Linked DNA regions of Homo sapiens: all the other regions are linked to region 1. The links are contacts of gene promoters, found by promoter capture Hi-C in blood cells and fetal thymus (Javierre and others, 2016). All regions are on one chromosome and are shown on one strand. The core of a region is centred on a gene start or on the middle of the fragment in contact, and the rest is flanking DNA. Distances in the headings are between cores, read along the strand shown. Region 1 holds the start of ANKRD13D (ankyrin repeat domain 13D). Region 2 holds the start of RBM14 (RNA binding motif protein 14). Region 3 holds the start of CD248 (CD248 molecule). Region 4 holds the start of RBM4 (RNA binding motif protein 4).

Evidence for each region. Contacts are between HindIII fragments. The CHiCAGO score rates a contact against its expected background, and 5 or more counts as called.
Region 2: a contact is called between the fragment with the promoter of RBM14 here and the fragment with the promoter of ANKRD13D in region 1, in 2 of 17 cell types (non-activated CD4 T cells and M0 macrophages). The highest score is 6.9, in non-activated CD4 T cells.
Region 3: a contact is called between the fragment with the promoter of CD248 here and the fragment with the promoter of ANKRD13D in region 1, in 4 of 17 cell types (naive CD8 T cells, fetal thymus, total CD8 T cells and 1 more). The highest score is 9.6, in naive CD8 T cells.
Region 4: the fragment with the promoter of RBM4 here is called in contact with the fragment with the promoter of ANKRD13D in region 1 in 1 of 17 cell types (total CD8 T cells); the score reaches 5.3 in total CD8 T cells.

What each region holds. Positions count from the first base shown.
Region 1 is chr11:67,287,436-67,290,738 of GRCh38, forward strand. ANKRD13D (ankyrin repeat domain 13D) reads left to right here and starts at 1,868. Exons shown (of 15, transcript NM_207354.3): 1 at 1,868-2,115; 2 at 2,643-2,778; 3 at 2,887-3,011. The coding sequence starts at 2,026. RefSeq lists enhancers at 1-23, 774-983, 2,218-3,142, 3,143-3,303 and silencers at 1,204-1,273, 1,454-2,223. The HindIII fragment of the contact is 22,420 bases long and covers 1-3,303 here.
Region 2 is chr11:66,615,212-66,618,535 of GRCh38, forward strand. RBM14 (RNA binding motif protein 14) reads left to right here and starts at 1,419. Exons shown (of 3, transcript NM_006328.4): 1 at 1,419-1,846. The coding sequence starts at 1,510. RBM14-RBM4 (RBM14-RBM4 readthrough) reads left to right here and starts at 1,419. Exons shown (of 2, transcript NM_001198846.2): 1 at 1,419-1,846. The coding sequence starts at 1,510. RefSeq lists enhancers at 895-1,004, 1,369-2,302, 1,435-1,664. The HindIII fragment of the contact is 6,097 bases long and covers 1-2,584 here.
Region 3 is chr11:66,315,182-66,318,329 of GRCh38, forward strand. CD248 (CD248 molecule) reads right to left here and starts at 1,863. Exons shown (of 1, transcript NM_020404.3): 1 at 1-1,863. The coding sequence starts at 1,846. RefSeq lists an enhancer at 612-1,308 and a silencer at 1,792-2,061. The HindIII fragment of the contact is 3,746 bases long and covers 1-2,621 here.
Region 4 is chr11:66,637,155-66,640,377 of GRCh38, forward strand. It overlaps RBM4 (RNA binding motif protein 4), which reads left to right and starts at 1,549. Exons shown (of 4, transcript NM_002896.4): 1 at 1,549-1,598; 2 at 2,546-2,969. The coding sequence starts at 2,558. The region is part of intron 1 of RBM14-RBM4 (RBM14-RBM4 readthrough); the gene reads left to right. RefSeq lists enhancers at 1,000-1,713, 1,478-1,847, 1,714-2,425. The HindIII fragment of the contact is 1,556 bases long and covers 1,177-2,732 here.

The sequences.
Region 1 (3,303 bases), core at 618-3,117:
ATGCCTGGAGGCACTGAATGCCAGGCTTAACCTATCCCGGAGCCAGGTGTGTGCTCAGGGCCTGCAGAATGAAGATACAAACGACATGGAGTCCAGACCTGCCATGCTCAGGGAGCCCTTGAAGGTGCGGAACAGGGCTGAGAGTGGTGAGAGCTGGCTCTAAAGTGATTGCCTGGTTACTGAGTACAGGATGTGGGGAGGGAGGTGAAGGACAGGAGGCAGGGAGACAAACCTCCGCAGTGGGAGAGGAAGAGATGAAAAGAGGCCAGACGGGAAGAACGTGGTCCAGCAGAAACAGGCTGGACTTGGGGCTGAGTGAGGCGGGAGTCTGGGGAAGAGGGTAGGTGTGGTTGGGTTGGCTTCGGACATACTGATGGGATAGCATGGGATCCCTGGGCACAGAGATGTCCTGGAGTAAGCTGAAATGTGGACCTGGGGGTGGCATCAGGGTGACAATGGGAACGGACAGTCTCTCTCCCAGGGATGTGGGGGTCAGGGAGAGAGAGGAGGCCGTGGAAGAGGGTTGAGAAGGCACTGTCATGGAATTAAGTGCCAGTGGGGAGCTGTGTTCAAGATGGCAGAAATCAGGAGAGGCTGGAACCAAGAAAGTCCTGTCGGGGTTGAGTTTGGAGAGGGCTCAGGGAAGGGACCGCCTCTGAGAAAAGGGGTGGCCAGGGAGGGCTGCAGTAGTGGTGAGCAGGTGAGCTCTGGGCATTCAGAAGCCTTCGGGCTGCTACCAACCCCAGGACCTCACAGATTGACACCATAGCGTGGGGTGGCAAAGTGACCCCAGATGGCACAGGCGCCATGTGACTACAGGGAGAAGGCAGGGTAAAAATGGCAATCAGGCCTTCCAGCCCAGAGTCTCAGAACTGAGGACGCCCTACAGCAGGAAGTGATGCTCAAGCTAGCTGGCCCTCCTCAATCATGTTCCACGTAGGGAAAGGGAGAATAGAGGGTCAGCCTTGGCCACCTAGCAAAACCAGGGCCCCAGACCCCAGGCTGGGCCTCCAGTAATCAAGGGCCGGAACTGAGCTGACGGAGGCCTGCACCCTAGTTCCGGTGTGGGTGGAGGGGCCGGCCCTGATTTCGAAACTCGCCTTCCTCTCCTGACGCTGGCAGCCAACCGCAGCCTCTGCAAAAGGGACTCGTGCGGCGGGCGAAGGCAGCCGTTCGCCGCGGGCGGTCCTCCGCCGGGACGGCTCTGCCGCTGCCTGGGCCTGCGCCCCTCTCTCCCCGAACTCCTATCCCTGACTTCAGGGCCCCGGGGGCCGCCTCCCCGCATCGCTGGGCCTGCAGACACCGGCCAGGTCCCAGGGGAAGGTGCTTCCCGCTCAGCCGGCAAGCACTTAGTGGCGTCTGCTCGTTGCTCGTCTCCAGGCCGGGTGAGGGGAGCCGGGGCGCCCCACTTCACCCGCACACCCCAGCAGAGTCGGTGACCGCGGGACCTGGGGTAGGAAGACCGGGGCGAGCAAGGGGATCCGCGGGGGAAACGCAGGCATCACGGCTGCAGCAGGACCGCGGCCCGCCGCGCACGCGCGTGCACTACCGAGGGGCCCAGTGCCCGCCCCCTCCGGCCCCGCCTTCCTCTTCCGGACCCGGCTCCGGGGGTCTGCGCAGGGCTCGGGGCGCCTCCTGCGGGCCGCGGGCGGAGCTGTAACCGGGCACCGCCCTCCAGGCCGCCCCAGCGGACCCGGGCCCGACCGAGGTCGGGGCGCAGACCCAAGGCCGGGCATCTCCTCGGGCGCTCGCGGTTGCTCTGCCGCGCGCTGGCCTGGCCGCGGTTGCCATGGTTGCGGGGGGACGGGGGCGCGCGCGAAGCCCCGCCCCGGCCCGGCGCAGCCCCGCCCGCTCCGCCGCCCGCCCCGCCCTCCCTGCCGCCCGCGCTGCCGCCGCCGCCGCCGCCGCCGCTACTGCTGCGGGGGCCGCGGGGGGCGCAGCTGGGGCGCGGCTCGGAGGGGAGGCTAGGGGGCCGTGCCAGGCCCGAAGCCGAGGCGGGGCCGGGATGCGGCGCTGAGGCCCAGCATGGCCGGCCCGGGCCCCACCTTCCCGCTGCACCGGCTCGTCTGGGCGAACCGGCATCGCGAACTGGAGGCCGCACTGCACAGCCACCAGGTGAGGCCCCGCTGGGGCACCCGGCCCTTCCCCCGGGTCCCCCACCCAAGGCTGTGGCCTCCGTCCTGGAGCCCCCCCCCCCCCCCCGCCCGCTCAGCTCCGCAGCCACATCCTGGGCCTTCCTCCCCTGCACGATCCCAAGCCCAGGTCACCGGCCCCTCGCGCCTGAGCCTCTGGCCTCCTCTCCCCTGCGCTGGGCCTTGCCCTGCTCGCCCGAACTCGCTTCCGCATCCTTGCTGACCCAAGCTGAGAACAAGAACTCTGGTCCTGGTCCCCAGGTTCCGCCAAACTCCTGACAACCTGCAGCTCTGCCTGACCAGGCCCCGCCGCCAGACCCCGGCTCTGCCCCTGCCTTCCCTCCTGCCCCCTCCTCTCCCCTGCCAGGACACGCAGGCCACCCTCTGCCATCTCCCTGGTCAGTCCGCCGTCCTTATTTCCCACAGCGATTCCCAACCCTGCTCGCCCTGGCAGCCTCCCTGCCTTGCCCTCTTCTCTCCTGCCCTTTGTGAGTGTCCCGTCTCCCCCAGCACGACATTGAACAGGAGGACCCCCGCGGGCGGACCCCACTGGAGCTGGCCGTGTCTCTGGGAAACCTGGAGTCTGTGAGAGTGCTCCTTCGACACAATGCCAACGTGGGCAAAGAGAACCGCCAGGGCTGGGCAGGTACTGCAGAGGACAAGGGGCTCCCCCTGAGGCTGGCAGGCGGGGGGCAGTGAGCAGCCAGGCCTGGGGTCATCTGGAGGGCTCCCCTCAGCAGCCTGGTGCCCGCAGTCCTGCAGGAGGCAGTCAGCACTGGAGACCCCGAGATGGTGCAGCTGGTGCTCCAGTATCGGGACTACCAGAGGGCCACGCAGAGGCTGGCGGGCATTCCGGAACTGCTCAACAAACTTCGCCAGGTACAGCAGGGCACAGTTATGGAGGTGGGGTACCATGGCAGGGCACCACCCTGGTTACTGTGCCAGGCCTGGCCTTGGAAAGGCACCCAGTTTGTGCAGTGTGCCTCCTGCCACCAGCAAGGAGGTCTGTCTATCTTGACCCCAGCCCAGGGTCACGTAGGAAAGAGAGACGGCCAGGCTCACGTGGGAGAGACTGGACCCTTTGGAAGAGAAGCCTTGCCAGCTTTGGGCCTCCTGAAGAATGCAGATTACCTGGAGCAGGGACTTCAGGTTGACTCGGTGGATTATGGCC
Region 2 (3,324 bases), core at 169-2,668, 670 kb before region 1:
CCACCGGGCCTGGCCCATACTGGCTCTTGACTCTTCCTTGAACCAGATTTGCTTCTGCCCCAGCACTCTTTGACTTGTACTTTCTGGCCGGCATGATCTTCCCTCAGAGGATGGCTTAGTTCCCTTGATTACTCCAAGTCCTCATCACCATCTAACACGCTTATGTTTTACTTATTTCTTGCCTGTTTCTCCCCACCATAAGATCCAAGAAGGTTGGGATTTCTGTCATTTTTTTTTGTTCACTGCTATATTCTTGGTGGTGTCCACATGGTAGGTGCTATTTGTTGACTGAACACGTAGGCAAATATTTCCCTGAGTTTGTCACATGTCTATGTTTTTGATGTTGTCTGCCATGCAACAATCTTATTTACATACTCAAATCTGTTTAAAAAAATTTTTGAGACGGAATCTCACTGTCGCCCATGCTGGAGTGCAGTGGCGTGATCTTGGCTCACTGCAACCTCCGCCTTCCGGGTTCAAGTGATTCTCCTGCCTCAGCCTCCCAAGTAGCTGGGATTACAGGCGCGCACCACCACACCCGGCTAATTTTGTATTTTTAGTAGAGACGGGGTTTCACCATTTTGGCCAGGCTGGTCCTGAACTCCTGACCTCCGGTGATCTGCTTGCCTTGGTCTCCCAAAGTGCTGGAATTACAGGCGTGAGCCACCGCTCCCGGACTAAAATTTTTTTTAAGGCTCAACTTTTGCTTCCTGCAGAATTAATTTTCTCGTTTATTAAACTGTTTATTATGAAAACCTTCAACATACAATAACGTCATTCCATTATTTCTTGACTGGGAATTCCATCAGGGCAGAGGCCTTTGATTTTTCACCGGCTGCCAGGACCTCAGCAACCCCAGGGAATGTTTCCAAAGAATCAATTAATGGCACGAGGGCTTCTCCGGGGCCTGCCTCAGGTCCCCTCGCGGTGCTCAGCACAGTCCTGGGAGCCGTTTGCCGACTCAAGGCGCCTGTCCTGGTTTCTCCCGCCAGGCCCGGCCTTCCCCCGTACACTCACGCGGCAACCCCCAGGCGCGGGTTTGGACAGGGCTTCCAGAATGGGAGGAGCCCTGACTTCCAATTGTACAAAGTTTTCCTGGGAGCCCGCCGGTCCCAGCCCCACCCGGGCCAGAGACCGCCTTACAGACTAGGCCTCTCTGCCGCCGGCGCCGCTCGCGCGCGTTCTCCTCTCTTCAGCCCTCCCTCTTCTTCCCAACCCCCTCTCCCGCCACGGGCTGTGGCGGTTGGTCGTCCCTTTCCCACCCCCTCAGCTAACGAGCGGGCTCTAGGCCCTCTGGGATTGGCTGTGCCTGAGCACATCTTCCCTCAGCGTTTCTGATTGGTCGCTGGACGCGCGGGATGCGAGTCCCCATTGGCTAGGCCAGGGCGCCTGCGCGGCGGGGTTCTCGGTCGCCAGCCATTCCTGAGGAGGACTGCCGGTCGTTCGGACGTCTTGCCTGTCGCTGGAGGAGAGGTCCGGGCTCTCCAGGAAGGTGGCTGCGGCGACAAAATGAAGATATTCGTGGGCAACGTCGACGGGGCGGATACGACTCCGGAGGAGCTGGCAGCCCTCTTTGCGCCCTACGGCACGGTCATGAGCTGCGCCGTCATGAAACAGTTCGCCTTCGTGCACATGCGCGAGAACGCGGGCGCGCTGCGCGCCATCGAAGCCCTGCACGGCCACGAGCTGCGGCCGGGGCGCGCGCTCGTGGTGGAGATGTCGCGCCCAAGGCCTCTTAATACTTGGAAGATTTTCGTGGGCAATGTGTCGGCTGCATGCACGAGCCAGGAACTGCGCAGCCTCTTCGAGCGCCGCGGACGCGTCATCGAGTGTGACGTGGTGAAAGGTAACGCGGAGGCGCGCTCGGGGGCGGGGGCGCGCTCGGGGCACTCTGCCTGTTAGCCACGCCCCTTACCCGGGGGTCGGTCACTGCGCGGTTGGGAGGGGTGGGGAAGTGCGCGGGAGCAGGTCGGAGGTGTTGGGGGCGCGTTGGGTAGAGCCACCCTCCTCCCCTGCGGTCCAGGAACCGTCCACCAAGTAGGAGGAAGCGGCTCTGGGTGGGTGCGGCGGCCACTGCGAGCCAAGCTACGGGGCCGGGGACGCGCCTGAGAGCCTTGCGAGTGTTCCGGGGGCGCGCCTTCTCCTGGTCTCCTGGGCCTGGCACCCAGCGGAAATTGGGAAGTGACGGGCACAAGCCGGATCATGAAGCGGGGAAGATTTCTCCACTTCCCCACTTCCTCTCCAGACGTCGGTCAGAGCAAGGGAAGAGGGAAAAGGTGGGGGCTGACGCCCCAAGGCCGCCCTCCTGTTCCCTCCCGATGAATGTGCTCAAGCGGAAGGTAACGGGGCCCTTGGACGTTTCTCGGGCTGGGGTCTTTTAGTCTTGTCTGGCATGGGTCTACTCATGGGCACAGTTACACGTGGGTACGAGAGGGGCCCCTTCCGAATCACTTTGGCCTTTCAATATTAGGTAGGTTAGGCGTGGCAGCTCTGTGCTTTTCTCCTCCCTCAAACTTGGGGTTTTTCTTTGGGCTCGATTTTACATCTGTCAACTGGAAACCCCAGCCTTTTGCATGTGCAAGAAAGCTTGTTTTATGAAGTCCCCTTCTGCGTAGTCTTTACATGCCAAGCCAGTGCCCTAGGGCAGTGTCATTCTTTTATAAGCTTGGTGACTTTGCAGGGGGGCATACTCTGGCTGAGGGGGTCCTGGGGAGGGGTCTGTGAGAGCTCTTCATTAAACAGTGGCTAAACACGGTTTACTGAATCAGTAGTAGTCATTGCTTGAGTAGTCTGATTCTCAGGGCAGATCCCGGTGCCTTTTCTTCGAGAAAAATGTGTCACCATAATTTAAGCCTGACTAGGGACCCAGTTGACTTTTTCATAGCTTGAGTTTTTATCCCTTAAGCTCTTTATCTTTTACATTGGCAAGATTTGGTGGGACAGCCGTTGTGTATGTGGCCAGTCTCTGCTCCACTTGGGAACAGATCAGAGTTAACTTTGCCCTGTCATTTTGGAAGATGCAGCCTGGGAGTATCTGATGCCCTACTCCTGGTGGGTTCATACCTGCTCATACCCTGTGTGAGAAGTTTCAGGGATAGGAAATAAATGTGGGTGCAAGTGCTTATTTATCCCACCAAGATATTTCATTTGCTGTCCTGGAAAGGCACATGTTTGGGGCCATTCCTAGTCCTTTAAGTGGGGGAAATATAAAGGGTCATAGTGTCCACTACTAGGAACAAGTCCTTGTTCTGCATTAATACTGCATTCTATTTTCCTCAACTCAGGTTATACAAGTCCACGACTATCCGGAATCGGGCTTTCCTG
Region 3 (3,148 bases), core at 613-3,112, 970 kb before region 1:
CTGCGGGCTGGGTGGCAGCAGGCACAGAGATTTGATGGGCAGGAGACACAGGGGACCTGGAGGTGGTGGTCAGAGAGGGCTGGGCAGTTGGGATAATGGGAAGCTGGGTGGCCTGGGTTCTGAGGACAAGGGCATCTGGGGCTTGAGGGGGTAGCTGGGCACCGAGGGTGGTGACCAGAGGGGCATGGTTAGGTGGGATTCCAGGCAAATGAGTGGTGGTCTGGGTGCCAGCGACCCGGGTGTCTGGAAACATGGGGGACTGGTGGGCAGGGAAGAGCTCCGGATATTTGGTTGAGATCATAGGGGGCTGGTGGGCAGGAGGCTGTGCTGAATGAGAGACAGAGAGAATACCGGGTTGGTAGGCAGAAGGCAGATCTGGATAGTTGGCTGCGATCACGGGGATCTGGTGGTCACGGGACAAAGCTGGGTGTGTGGCAGGGATCACAGGAGGCTGGTGGGCAGAAGGCAGTGTGGGATGCGTGGCAGAGACCACCACAGGCCGGGTGACGGAGAGCACTGAGGAGTGGTAGGGGACCCTGGGGGCACTGAGCGGGGGTGGCCAGGTGGGCTCCGGGTAGGGTATCTGTGGCTCTCTGTCCTCTGGGAAGCTCGGTCTATAGGCCAGGGCAAAGTCAGGCGGCTGCGTAGGCTCCATCCACAGGATCCCAGGCATCTCCGTCCAGCCACCGTTGAAGGCCTTCCAGGCCTCGTCTTCATCTTCCTCATCCTCCCCGTCATCCAGCAACTCATCTCCGAGGTCCTGGGAAGCCTGGGCACCCATGGCCCCTGCAGGGCTGCAGCTGATGCCATCAGCCTCCAGCTCATGTCCCTCGCTACAATAACACTCGAAGCCACCAACGTAGTTGACACACATCTGCTGGCACACACCGGCAATCTGGCACTCATCTGTGTCCACACAGCGGTGCGGATCATCCTCCGCTGGCCGGAAACCCAGGCGACAGTGGCAGCTGTAGCCTTGTGGCCCACCGGGCTCACACTGCTGCTCGCACGGAGCCTGGGCACAGGGGTCCTCGCAACTGCGCCCGTCTGCTGCCAGCCGGAAGCCCTCAGTGCAGCGGCAGGACACGTGACCATCCACCTCCTCCACACATTCGTGTTCGCAGCCCCCGTTGTCAGGGCTGCAGCCAGTCCCCAGGCACAGGGGCCCAGCCCGTGACCAGCCCACACCTCCCTCAGGCTGCTTCACGCAGAGCAGAGAGGCTCCCCTGCCAGCCTGGCACTGCACAGCGGCCACAGAGCCGAAGGGCAGCCACTCAAACTCTGTGGAGACCAGGTGGAAGGGCGTGGTATACACGGCTGGGCCGGCCTGGCCCGCCTCATCTTGCAGCGCCGGGCAGGCGCCCTCGAAGCCAAACTGGCACAGGTAGCCGTCGACAGCCAGCGTGCACGAGCCCTCCAGCCAGCGGTGCTCGCCACTTGCCTCCAGGGCCACACAGCGCTGGGCCGGGCAGGGGCCTCCAGAGGCTGGCTGGGCCCAGTTGGTGAAAGCCGTGTCCTGGTCCCCTGTGGTCCACGTGAAGCCGCGCAGTGGGCGCTGCAGCTGGCATTGCCGGGCCTGCCGCTGCAGCCCGATCCACAGCAGCCGGCTGGCTGGGCCCGCACCCACCAGGCTGTCCACACGCTGGGCCTCCTCGGGGGTCCGAGGAGTGGCCAGGTCGCCCCCCAGCTCGCGGCAGGCCCGCCAGGCCTCCAGGAAGGTGCGGCGCCGTGGGAAGAGAGCGTAGCAGCTGCTGGGGCCGCAGGCGGCACGGGGCTCAGCAGCCCAGGGGTCCTGGCCCAGTGTGGGCCCTGCGGCCGCCCAGGCCAGCAACAGGCGCAGCAGCATCGCGATGCCCCCGGACTGGTCCGGCCCCGGGCTGGCGGCAGCTCTTGACAGGGGGAGGGCCTGGGGCCTCCTGCGGGCGGGCCGGGGGCGGGCCTGGGGCCGGGCTCAGGCCTTGTAAGGAGTGGGCTGGGGCGGCTGCCAGCTCCCTGCTCCCTCTTCCCCGGGGGCCGCTAGAGCAGGAAGCAGTGGGGTGGGGGGCTCTAAGGTTGGGGGCGGAGGAGGGGAGAAGGCGCAGTTGACGGCTGCCCCAGGCCCCATGGGGCTGAGAGTCAGGGGGTGGGAAAAGCCTGCCTGCCGAGCTCTGTGACCCTCAAGTTGGGGCTCGGGGCTGTGGGGTGAGGTCGCTTCCCAGAGACTCAGAGACCCAAATCTGGACACAGCAGCCCCATCACACCCGGGAGCAGTCTCAGCCCAGCTGCTCGCCATGCACGGGAACACCCTCATGCCCACTCCTTTCTTGCCCCACAGACGCGCGCATGCGCCTCCCCCACCCCCAACCCCATGCAAGAGTGCACTCTCTGCCAAGCTGTTTGTCCCTTCACCTCACCGTGGACCTATGCTGGCTTGCAGATGACTCCCTTGCCACACGTACACACATTCTGACATGCTGAGACCCTAGGTGCACATACAAAAATGGTGTGGCATTCTACATGGCCTGACATATGAAGACCTCCGATTCGGCCTGAATGGAAACAGCTTGGTCACCCAGGCACAGGCATCCTCAGCCTCTCATTTATTTACTGAGCCCCTGCGTCAGCCTCTCCCCCTATACTCAAGCTTTCTGGTTCCAGCTGGGCCAGCGTGTGGGGGTGTTGGGGGAGTGAGGGGGCCAGGGGCTGCCCTCCCCTCACCCCAGCTCAGCCTGGGGCCCTGGGAACCTGGGCTTAGAGGGGGAGGAGGCAGCCCCTAAACAGGAAATGCCTCTCTGGGCTCCTGCGTCAGGAAGGCAGGGTGCGTGGTTTAGGGGGCTGGGTGGGGGCTGGGCTGCACGCAGGATGTGGAAGGCTGTGAGGGGACCCATGCAAGGCCATGTATGGGCATGGGGCACACAGTGACATATATGTGTATATGTGACACAGGCATCACGTGTGTGGAGCCCTCCCTGCCCCCGGGGCCTGCTGTTTCGGCCTGGCCAGGGTCCTCTTCCCGCCCTTCCTGGAGGCCTCTGGAGGCATGTGCACTGAGCCCATCATCCAGGATGGCCTCTGGGGAGCTGGCTGGCGGATTAACCCATGCACACCCGCTGCACTCTTAGCAGAAGTTAGAAACAGTGTGGGGAGGTGGGGGAGAGGTTCCGCCCTT
Region 4 (3,223 bases), core at 299-2,798, 650 kb before region 1:
CACTGCAACCTCTGCCTCCCGGGTTCAAGCGATTCTCCTGCCTCAGCCTCCTGAGTAGCTGGGATTACAGGGGCCTGCCACCACATTGGGCTAATTTTTGTATTTTTAGTGGAGATGGCGTTCACCATGTTGGCTAGGCTGGTCTTGAACTCCTGACCTCAGGTGATCCGCCCGCCTCGGCCTCCCAAAGTGCTGGGATTACAGGCGTGGGCCACCGCACCTGGCCCTCGTGTTGGGTTTTAAAACCCACTCTTTTTTTTCCCCCCCAAACTCTGACTTCACCTTTCTCTTTATGAAACCGTTCTCTTTTTGGGGCGGGGGTGGTGGTGAAGAAGCTGCTTTGGATGGTGGTGTGTGGTACTTGTGTCATCTTCACTCCTGATGATCCCTTTCCTCATAAACTCTGCACTGCTTTTAGCCTGTTTTGTTCGTGTTATAAGTTCTTCCATCCAGTCCCTGCACTCCACCTTTTAACCCTTTTCAAAAGCTGCTTCGCAAAGGGTCTTGACTAAAGTTGCTTGCTTAATGAATATGAAGCAGCCTAAGGATGAGAGAAAACGAGGCAGCAGCTGGACCCTCTGGAGAATGTTACTTTGTATTTTGTTTACAGCTGGTTGTGACTAAGCTCTGTCCTCTAAAGTCGGTTCTAGGGGATTAAAACAGCTCTGGCTGATGGCGCCCAATAAAATAAAACAAAAAAACCTTTGCTGCTCCAGTTTTTTCTCAGGGTGGGGTCGGGGTATACTTTAAATCTCCATGGTCTCAGAAAGGTTTCTTCATCGCGGACCCTGGGAGGCTGGTTCCCAGAGGGAACTTGTCCTCAGCGTCTCCTGGACAGTGCAGCCTCCTGCCGGGCCTACTTCTGGAAGGCCATTACAGAGGTCCTTTCACCACCTGTGAGAGGTTTGATTTTGGGGGAGCTCCGGGACTCTCAAGGCTACAGTGTGGACTGCTGGCCCAAGGAGAAGGTTGGTTTCCTGAAGTGGTGGGTGGTGGGTTGGGGGGGGTCTTCGTTGTTTTTCTTCCCTGGCATGTGCCTGCATAAGCTATTTCCACAGCGTCCTGGCCGCGAGGGGGGGTGGTGCTTGGGAGGTTAGAGGGAGACACCTAGAGTGAACGGCAAAATGGAGCGCGGAATACTGTCTGGCTGTGCACGTGGAGGTGGCGAAATGTGGAAGCTTAACGAAGTTGGCGCCATGAAGCTAAAGACTGCTACCCCGGGGCTCTAGCTCGCTCCGCCTAATGGCGGGCCGCACCCCGCCGGCGAAGCCCACGTTTGTAGGTCCGCCCTCACGCTGATCTCTTGCCCAATCAGCGAGTTCGGCTTCGCGAGGTTGGTGCCCATTGGCTTTCGCATAAAAGCTCCGAGGTTACAGACGTTTCCACCTCTTGCCGGCCTCTTAGGTAATTGGCGTCCGTGGTAACCAATCAGGAAGAGGATCTGAGGGAACGCCGGCCTTTTACTTTCTTGAGTGGCCAATCCGGTTGTAGGCTCACCTCCCCCTTCTACTCAGAGCACTGCTGCGGCCGCCGCCATTTTAGCGTTTTGTCAGAAGCGTCCGCGCCGCGAGGAGGAGGCCCTGCTGGTTTCTGTGCGGGTGAGACTCCGAGCCTTTCCACTGCCTTTCTTGTACTGTGTTAAATCTTCTCTCACTCCCTTGGGCTTCGGGGGTGTCCTGGTAGGTCCGCAGTCTCCACACCCGTCACTGAGAGCCGACCTCGGTCCTCGGCATTGCGCGGTAAGCCGGGAGCAGCCCTTCCCCCACCGCCCCCTGAGAATACCTTGCTTTTTTTCGCCCACCCTGTCCCGCGCCCGACATGGCTGCTCTTGGAGCCTCGAGATTTCCACTGGGATAACCCCCTTTCCCTTATATCTGACAGTTACATTCTCGTTTCGGGAATTTCTCGGGCCGTGAGACATCGTCTGGTTAATGAATCTGAAGCTCTTTTCCGCGGCCGCGCATTTCAGTGTTCGGCAGGAGCTAGGACGGTGCCCCGAGAGAGGCGTTCACCACTCCAGTATTTCCTTTATCTCCCACTCCTCGCTGTCTGATCCGAGTCGCGCGTTCATTACTTCCAAAGGAAACTCAAATGTAGCTATTACAAGGCCCATTTTCCCGGAAATGATGGCTGCTTTGGTTCCTACGTGAGGAAAAGCCTGTTGATAATTTCAGGCAGGCAGTCAGCAAGCCTAGTAGACTTTTGTTTTCTGTTGTCCTCCTAGTGGATAGAAAAGCCTAGTACCCCCATTTCTTCATATGCTGTCTTTCATGCCCATTTCTGTTGGAAGGTATCGGTTCTTACCAAACCCTTTGTCTACTAAGGACCTCCCTATTGCAGACGTCTTCTTATTCTTACAGGTTCATGGCGGCTACTATAGCAGGCCTTAGTTCACTCCCACTTCCATTTGATTATTGTGTGGAGGTGTGTGTGCAGGCGTGTGAGAGAGAAAACTGGAAATATACATTAGAGTGAAAGTCGTTGTCTTTTGTGAACGGATGTGGGCCTGAGGTCTTTTGTCAGATGTCTTGTTTTTCTCTCCCAGGCTCTTGTCAGGATGGTGAAGCTGTTCATCGGAAACCTGCCCCGGGAGGCTACAGAGCAGGAGATTCGCTCACTCTTCGAGCAGTATGGGAAGGTGCTGGAATGTGACATCATTAAGAATTACGGCTTTGTGCACATAGAAGACAAGACGGCAGCTGAGGATGCCATACGCAACCTGCACCATTACAAGCTTCATGGGGTGAACATCAACGTGGAAGCCAGCAAGAATAAGAGCAAAACCTCAACAAAGTTGCATGTGGGCAACATCAGTCCCACCTGCACCAATAAGGAGCTTCGAGCCAAGTTTGAGGAGTATGGTCCGGTCATCGAATGTGACATCGTGAAAGATTATGCCTTCGTACACATGGAGCGGGCAGAGGATGCAGTGGAGGCCATCAGGGGCCTTGATAACACAGAGTTTCAAGGTGAACCACCCTCTTTGGGTAGAGGGCTGAACACAAGGCTGTGTGCAGAAAATGGTTGGATAAGTAAAAGGAGAGGTTTGGTAAAGATAACAGCTGTTGGCTGGCTGGTGATGAAGAAATAAGTGTGGGTGATGGACTTCTTATGATGTAGAATGCATGGGACTTAGGGGCTTTACCTTAGGCAAATGTCTCCTGGAGAAAAGCCACTCACCTTTTATTTGGAGCCCCTACGGCTTTTGTGCTTATCAGTGCAG